Linked DNA regions of Homo sapiens: region 1 is linked to region 2. Evidence: promoter capture Hi-C in 16 types of primary human blood cells and fetal thymus (Javierre and others, 2016). All regions are on one chromosome and are shown on one strand. Each heading gives the region's core, a stretch centred on a gene start or on the middle of the fragment in contact. The rest is flanking DNA. Distances are from core to core; before and after follow the strand shown. Region 1 overlaps TRAF2 (TNF receptor associated factor 2). Region 2 holds the start of RABL6 (RAB, member RAS oncogene family like 6).

What was found. The method cuts DNA at HindIII sites, captures the fragments that hold promoters and counts their contacts. A CHiCAGO score of 5 or more calls a contact.
Region 1: a fragment that was not itself captured here is called in contact with the fragment with the promoter of RABL6 in region 2 in 5 of 17 cell types (endothelial precursors, M2 macrophages, activated CD4 T cells and 2 more); the score reaches 8.9 in endothelial precursors.

The regions. Positions count from the first base shown.
Region 1 is chr9:136,925,426-136,928,125 of GRCh38, forward strand. It overlaps TRAF2 (TNF receptor associated factor 2), which reads left to right. Exons shown (of 11, transcript NM_021138.4): 11 at 258-1,182. The coding sequence ends at 476. Among named protein-coding and RNA genes, the nearest start is that of FBXW5, 18 kb to the right of the region's middle. The HindIII fragment of the contact is 2,628 bases long and covers 1-2,604 here.
Region 2 is chr9:136,806,698-136,809,397 of GRCh38, forward strand. It overlaps RABL6 (RAB, member RAS oncogene family like 6), which reads left to right and starts at 1,251. Exons shown (of 15, transcript NM_024718.5): 1 at 1,251-1,629. The coding sequence starts at 1,500. It overlaps CCDC183 (coiled-coil domain containing 183), which reads left to right. Exons shown (of 14, transcript NM_001039374.5): 12 at 60-170; 13 at 273-369; 14 at 875-1,044. The coding sequence ends at 993. CCDC183-AS1 (CCDC183 antisense RNA 1) reads right to left here and starts at 2,151. Exons shown (of 5, transcript NR_024580.1): 1 at 2,030-2,151; 2 at 132-505. It also overlaps the pseudogene LOC100422233. RefSeq lists enhancers at 195-790, 791-1,387 and silencers at 663-892, 1,093-1,262, 1,313-1,372, 1,393-1,522, 1,533-2,062. The HindIII fragment of the contact is 3,360 bases long and covers 1-2,369 here.

The DNA.
Region 1 (2,700 bases), core at 41-2,540, 120 kb after region 2:
TCAGTGGACAGGAAAGGCCAGAATGGACACAGATTCCCCAGAGAGAAGCGGAATGCCGGTGGCTGGGGAGGGCTGGGGAGCCCGGGCGCTGTGGCAGGAGCAAGGCCGCCCACCACGTGGTCTCGGCTGGGCCTCAGCCTCTGGCCTGGGTCCTGGGATGGCCTCCTGCTGGTGGCCCTGCCAGTGTCCAGACCCTCGGGAGCCAGAGAGAGACGGCCCACAGACCTGTGTCCCCTCCCTGGGGCTCTCTCCTCCAGGTGACCTTAATGCTGCTCGACCAGAATAACCGGGAGCACGTGATTGACGCCTTCAGGCCCGACGTGACTTCATCCTCTTTTCAGAGGCCAGTCAACGACATGAACATCGCAAGCGGCTGCCCCCTCTTCTGCCCCGTCTCCAAGATGGAGGCAAAGAATTCCTACGTGCGGGACGATGCCATCTTCATCAAGGCCATTGTGGACCTGACAGGGCTCTAACTGCCCCCTACTGGTGTCTGGGGGTTGGGGGCAGCCAGGCACAGCCGGCTCACGGAGGGGCCACCACGCTGGGCCAGGGTCTCACTGTACAAGTGGGCAGGGGCCGCGCTTGGGCGCTTGGGAGGGTGTCGGCCTGCAGCCAAGTTCACTGTCACGGGGGAAGGAGCCACCAGCCAGTCCTCAGATTTCAGAGACTGCGGAGGGGCTTGGCAGACGGTCTTAGCCAAGGGCTGTGGTGGCATTGGCCGAGGGTCTTCGGGTGCTTCCCAGCACAAGCTGCCCTTGCTGTCCTGTGCAGTGAAGGGAGAGGCCCTGGGTGGGGGACACTCAGAGTGGGAGCACATCCCAGCAGTGCCCATGTAGCAGGAGCACAGTGGATGGCCTTGTGTCCCTCGGGCATGACAGGCAGAAACGAGGGCTGCTCCAGGAGAAGGGCCTCCTGCTGGCCAGAGCAAGGAAGGCTGAGCAGCTTGGTTCTCCCCTCTGGCCCCTGGAGAGAAGGGAGCATTCCTAGACCCCTGGGTGCTTGTCTGCACAGAGCTCTGGTCTGTGCCACCTTGGCCAGGCTGGCTGTGGGAGAGGGTCTGGTCCCACGCCGCCTCTGCTCAGACCACTGTGTGGGAGGTGCACAGCACAGCCTGCGGGTAAAGTGTGAGAGCTTGCCATCCAGCTCACGAAGACAGAGTTATTAAACCATTCAAATCTCTGTGGTCAGTGGCATCCATTTGATTCCAGGTTGCCTGCGGCTTCCAGCCTTGGCAGTGGTGACCCTCTGCGGGTCCTCCTGGCCTCTCCTCTCACAGACCCCTCCCCACGGGGTGCCTAGCCCCTGCCTGCTTCTCTAGCTAGCCAGGCTGTGTTCTCTGTTCCTCACCTGATGTAAGCTCCCTCTTCTCGAGCCTTGTTCCCTCTTCTGGAATGTTCTTCCCTGTCCATCTCCTCTCCTGGGCCTCCCCAGGGACTCCTGTGAGAGCAGAATGAGGATGAGCCAGCCCTGGTCCTGCCTTTCTGTGCACAGGCTCCACCGAGCATCCTGGCTGCACCCGGGGGGTCCTGGCCACACCGAGGGTCCTGGCTGCACCGCCCCTGTGGTGTGTTTTTGGGACAGTGCAGGCAGGCGTAGGCACGGCTTCACACTCGGTGTCAGGGCAGCCGTGCTGGGACCTACTGGGCATCTGTATCGGGGTCCAGGATAAAGTGCTGTCCCCTCTCGACGTCTTCACGCACTGCTGTAGTTTGAGAAGTTGACCACAGAAAAGTACAGAAAATAACTCAGGCACGGAGCTGACCGACGGGCATTGTCTGTGTTCCGTGAGTGTGTACTGGGCCTAAAGAGCAAGCATTGCAGAGCCCTGCTGTTCCCTTTCCCGGCCTCACCTCAGCTCCCCAGGCCACGTGGCGGGAATTGAGGCGTTCCGGTTCTCTTTGGGCTTTAGAATTTTGCATCTGTACGTTTCTGTATTCACAAATAAGAATATTGCATTAAAAATGCAGAAACCATCCACTGGGTCAGCTGCAGGTAGCTGGGCTTTTGACTCAGCCTGGCTACTTTTAATGCATCTTGTGCTGGGCACTCTACATGGTGGATTCTGACTGCCGTGTGTGAGTTCCCTAGAGAGCACCTTCCAGTCTCTTCCCGTGTCTTCAGGGTTTGGTGACTGGAGATAGCCAGACCTGCTCTCGTGGGTCTCCTGTCAACCTGGAAGGAGGGTTGGTGGTTTCTAGGCCTCCCCTTTTTAGCAGTTGCCAGCTTGCTTTGCAGAGGGGCTGCATCCGGTCCTTCCACCAGCACCAGGGGGAGGGTTCCCATCACTCCCATCCCTCCCATCCCTGCCCGTGCTTCGTGTTGTTGGAATTGAGATGCTGCAGCGTGCTGTGTGTGAAGTGAAGTGGCATCGCTGTCACGTGCGTTTCTCTGATGACTCGGCGGAGTCAGGCGTCTTTACCACGCTTACCTCTCCCTTGGATTCTCTCCCGTGCGAATTGCCTGTTGATGTCTTTTTCTCATTTTTCTTCTGGTTGTTGGTCTGGGTCTTATTCTGCTGGTTGGTAGGAGTTCCTGATATTCCTGATTACGGATTCTCGGTTGTGTCTTTGAACTGCGTTTCTGTTGCTCCTGATGTGCAGAAGCTTAAGCCTTACACATGATCAGCTGATCTTATCCTTTATGAATGGTGCTATTTCCGACCGACTCAGAACATCCTGACCTTCCCTGAGGCTGGAA
Region 2 (2,700 bases), core at 1-2,500:
ACACACCAGGTCCCTGGGCAGGGCCAGAGGGGAGATGAGACCCTCCTCCCGGCCTACAGAGAGAAGTGGTGCTCTCCAACACCCTCGATTTGAACAGCAAGCTGGCGTACTGCGAGGGGAAGCTCACGTACCTGGCTGACAGAGTGCAGATGGTGTCCAGGACCGAGGAGGTAGCCCCGGGCTGGGAGGAACCTGCACAGCCCACGTCCCCTCAAAGCTGACAGGCTCCCGTTCAGAGTGTCTGCACGGCTGAAGGGGGCTTTGCCCTGCAGGGCGACACAAAGGTGAGGGACACCCTGGAGTCCTCGACTCTGATGGAGAAGTACAACACCAGGATCAGCTTTGAGAACCGGGAGGAGGATATGATCGGTACAGGCCCCGGAACTGGGGCCCGGGCTGCAGGCGGGTGGCTGGAACACAGGTCGGGGTGGCGCCGGCTCCCATCCCACCGGGACATCCTGGAGGGACAGCGGGGCTACAGGGTGCATCAGTTGTACCTGCAGGACTTTAATTGATGGAGGTGACTTAGTGATGCCATGGGGAGGCTAAAGCCACTGAAATACCTTGTTAATTTCTCCGAAAGGAGGAGGCATGCCATGCCAGACGGGCCCGGAGGAGAGGCACCAGGGCTGGAGCAGGGAGGAGCGCGGTGAAGGCCTGGGCCGGAGCTTCCACTGGGGGTTCTGCGGGAAAGGCTAGGCAGGGCAGCGTGAGCCGCTGCGAATGGGCTGGGCTGAGTCCTCCCGGCACGCTGGGGCTGTCCCTGGGGCAAGGCACCTGGCCCGGGTCGGTGGAGGGCGGGGGCGAGAGGCGGGTCGGGCGGCTGCGCCTAGCTGGGCTAGCCCCGTGTGCGAGCCGCCGCCTCCGCCCGCAGACACCTTCCAGTTCCCCGACATGGACCACAGCTACGTCCCTTCGCGCGCCGAGATCAAGAGGCAGGCGCAGCGGCTAATCGAGGGGAAGCTCAAGGCGGCCAAGAAAAAGAAGAAGTAGCCCCGCCGCCCCGCTCCCTGCTTTGCTACACAAATAAACATTTTTCCAGGACTGCTGCGGACGCTGGGGCGACCGGGGTCTCGGAGAGGAGCACGGGACACGCAGGATCGGGGGAGGTTCTGCGTAAGGAGGCAGCCCGGGCCCGGAACTGCGCGCCAGAACCGCGTGCGCATGCGCCGACCGCGCGCGCCGCGCCCCCGCGGCCCTCGCGGCGCCCCGTAGCCGCGCACCCCTCCCGTCCCGCCGAGCCGGCGCCAAGATGGCGGCGCTGACTCCTGGAGAGCGGTCGCGCCGGAGGCCGCGGGGGCCGGAGCGGAGCAGCCGCGGCTGAGGTTCCCGAGTCGCCGCTCGGGGCTGCGCTCCGCCGCCGGGACCCCGGCCTCTGGCCGCGCCGGCTCCGGCCTCCGGGGGGGCCGGGGCCGCCGGGACATGGTGCCAGTCGCACCCCTTCCCCGCCGCCGCTGAGCTCGCCGGCCGCGCCCGGGCTGGGACGTCCGAGCGGGAAGATGTTTTCCGCCCTGAAGAAGCTGGTGGGGTCGGACCAGGCCCCGGGCCGGGACAAGAACATCCCCGCCGGGCTGCAGTCCATGAACCAGGCGTTGCAGAGGCGCTTCGCCAAGGGGGTGCAGTACAACAGTGAGTGCGGCGGGCCGGGGGGGCGCGGGAGCGCCGCGCGGGTCTCCGAACCCAGGCCCCGGGCGCCGCGCGGTGGTGGGTGTCGGTCTCACCTGCTTGCCGGTTGTGGGGTGCGCTGGGCCCGCCGGGCGCTCCGGGAGCGGGGGCGCGGGCCAGGGGACGCGAGGAGAGGCCAGGCCAGGGCCGGGTCCTCGCGGCCCCCGAGCCGCGGGTCGTTTCCCAGCCGCACTCGCCTGCCGCGTGTCGCTCCCGCCGCGCTGTGCAGTGGAGCGGGTCGGCGGCGGCGGGGTTGGCCCGGCTGCCCGGCCCGGGGGTGATTACATAATGCCAAGCAGGGCCCGCCGGCCCGGGGCGCCGCGCCCCCGACGCTCCACGGTGCCCAGCCCCGGGCACCACTCACCTGCAGGAGGTGCGGGGAACCCAGCCGGCCTTGGCGCTTTCAGCGGGATTTTTCTTTGTTGACTTCCTACTGAGTTTGAAGACAGAATATTAGCTACGCCACACATTCTCGCCTTTTTTTTTAAAAGAAGCGTTTGTAAGAGACGTATCTAGAAAAGCTCCAGAAGGCACGGGCTGACTTGCGACTGTAGGAGACATCCCATTTCTCGTAGGAAGGAGGAGTCATTTACGGACTCCTGAGTGCCTGGGACGCTCCATTCCTTTGTTATAAATTGTGTAAATTGTCCTCGACCTCTTATGAGTTTTTCCATCTTGCGGGCTCTTTCCCAGTAGTTTTTGAAAGCTTTTATGTGGTTCCCTGTTTTGACATTGCTTCCCTCTTAGCCATTTCCGTATGTTTCTATGAGGTTTTAGGACGCTACGCCTATCCAGTTTTTTGGTCACTTTAAGGGGAGCCTTAGAGCCTCCGTGATATTTCCATGGTAATGTAGAATTTTAAGAACTAATGATCAGAAAGACTCTTGTGCAGGTTTAAAAGCAAGTTCATGAATTCGCGTGCCGTGTGCACGGAGAGAGGCCGTAGTTCCTGGGGCTGGAGCTAGTCCAGGAGGACAGTGAAGATGTCGCCTTCCTTAGTCCCCCGGCCTGTGAGCAAGAGGAAGCTGCAGACCA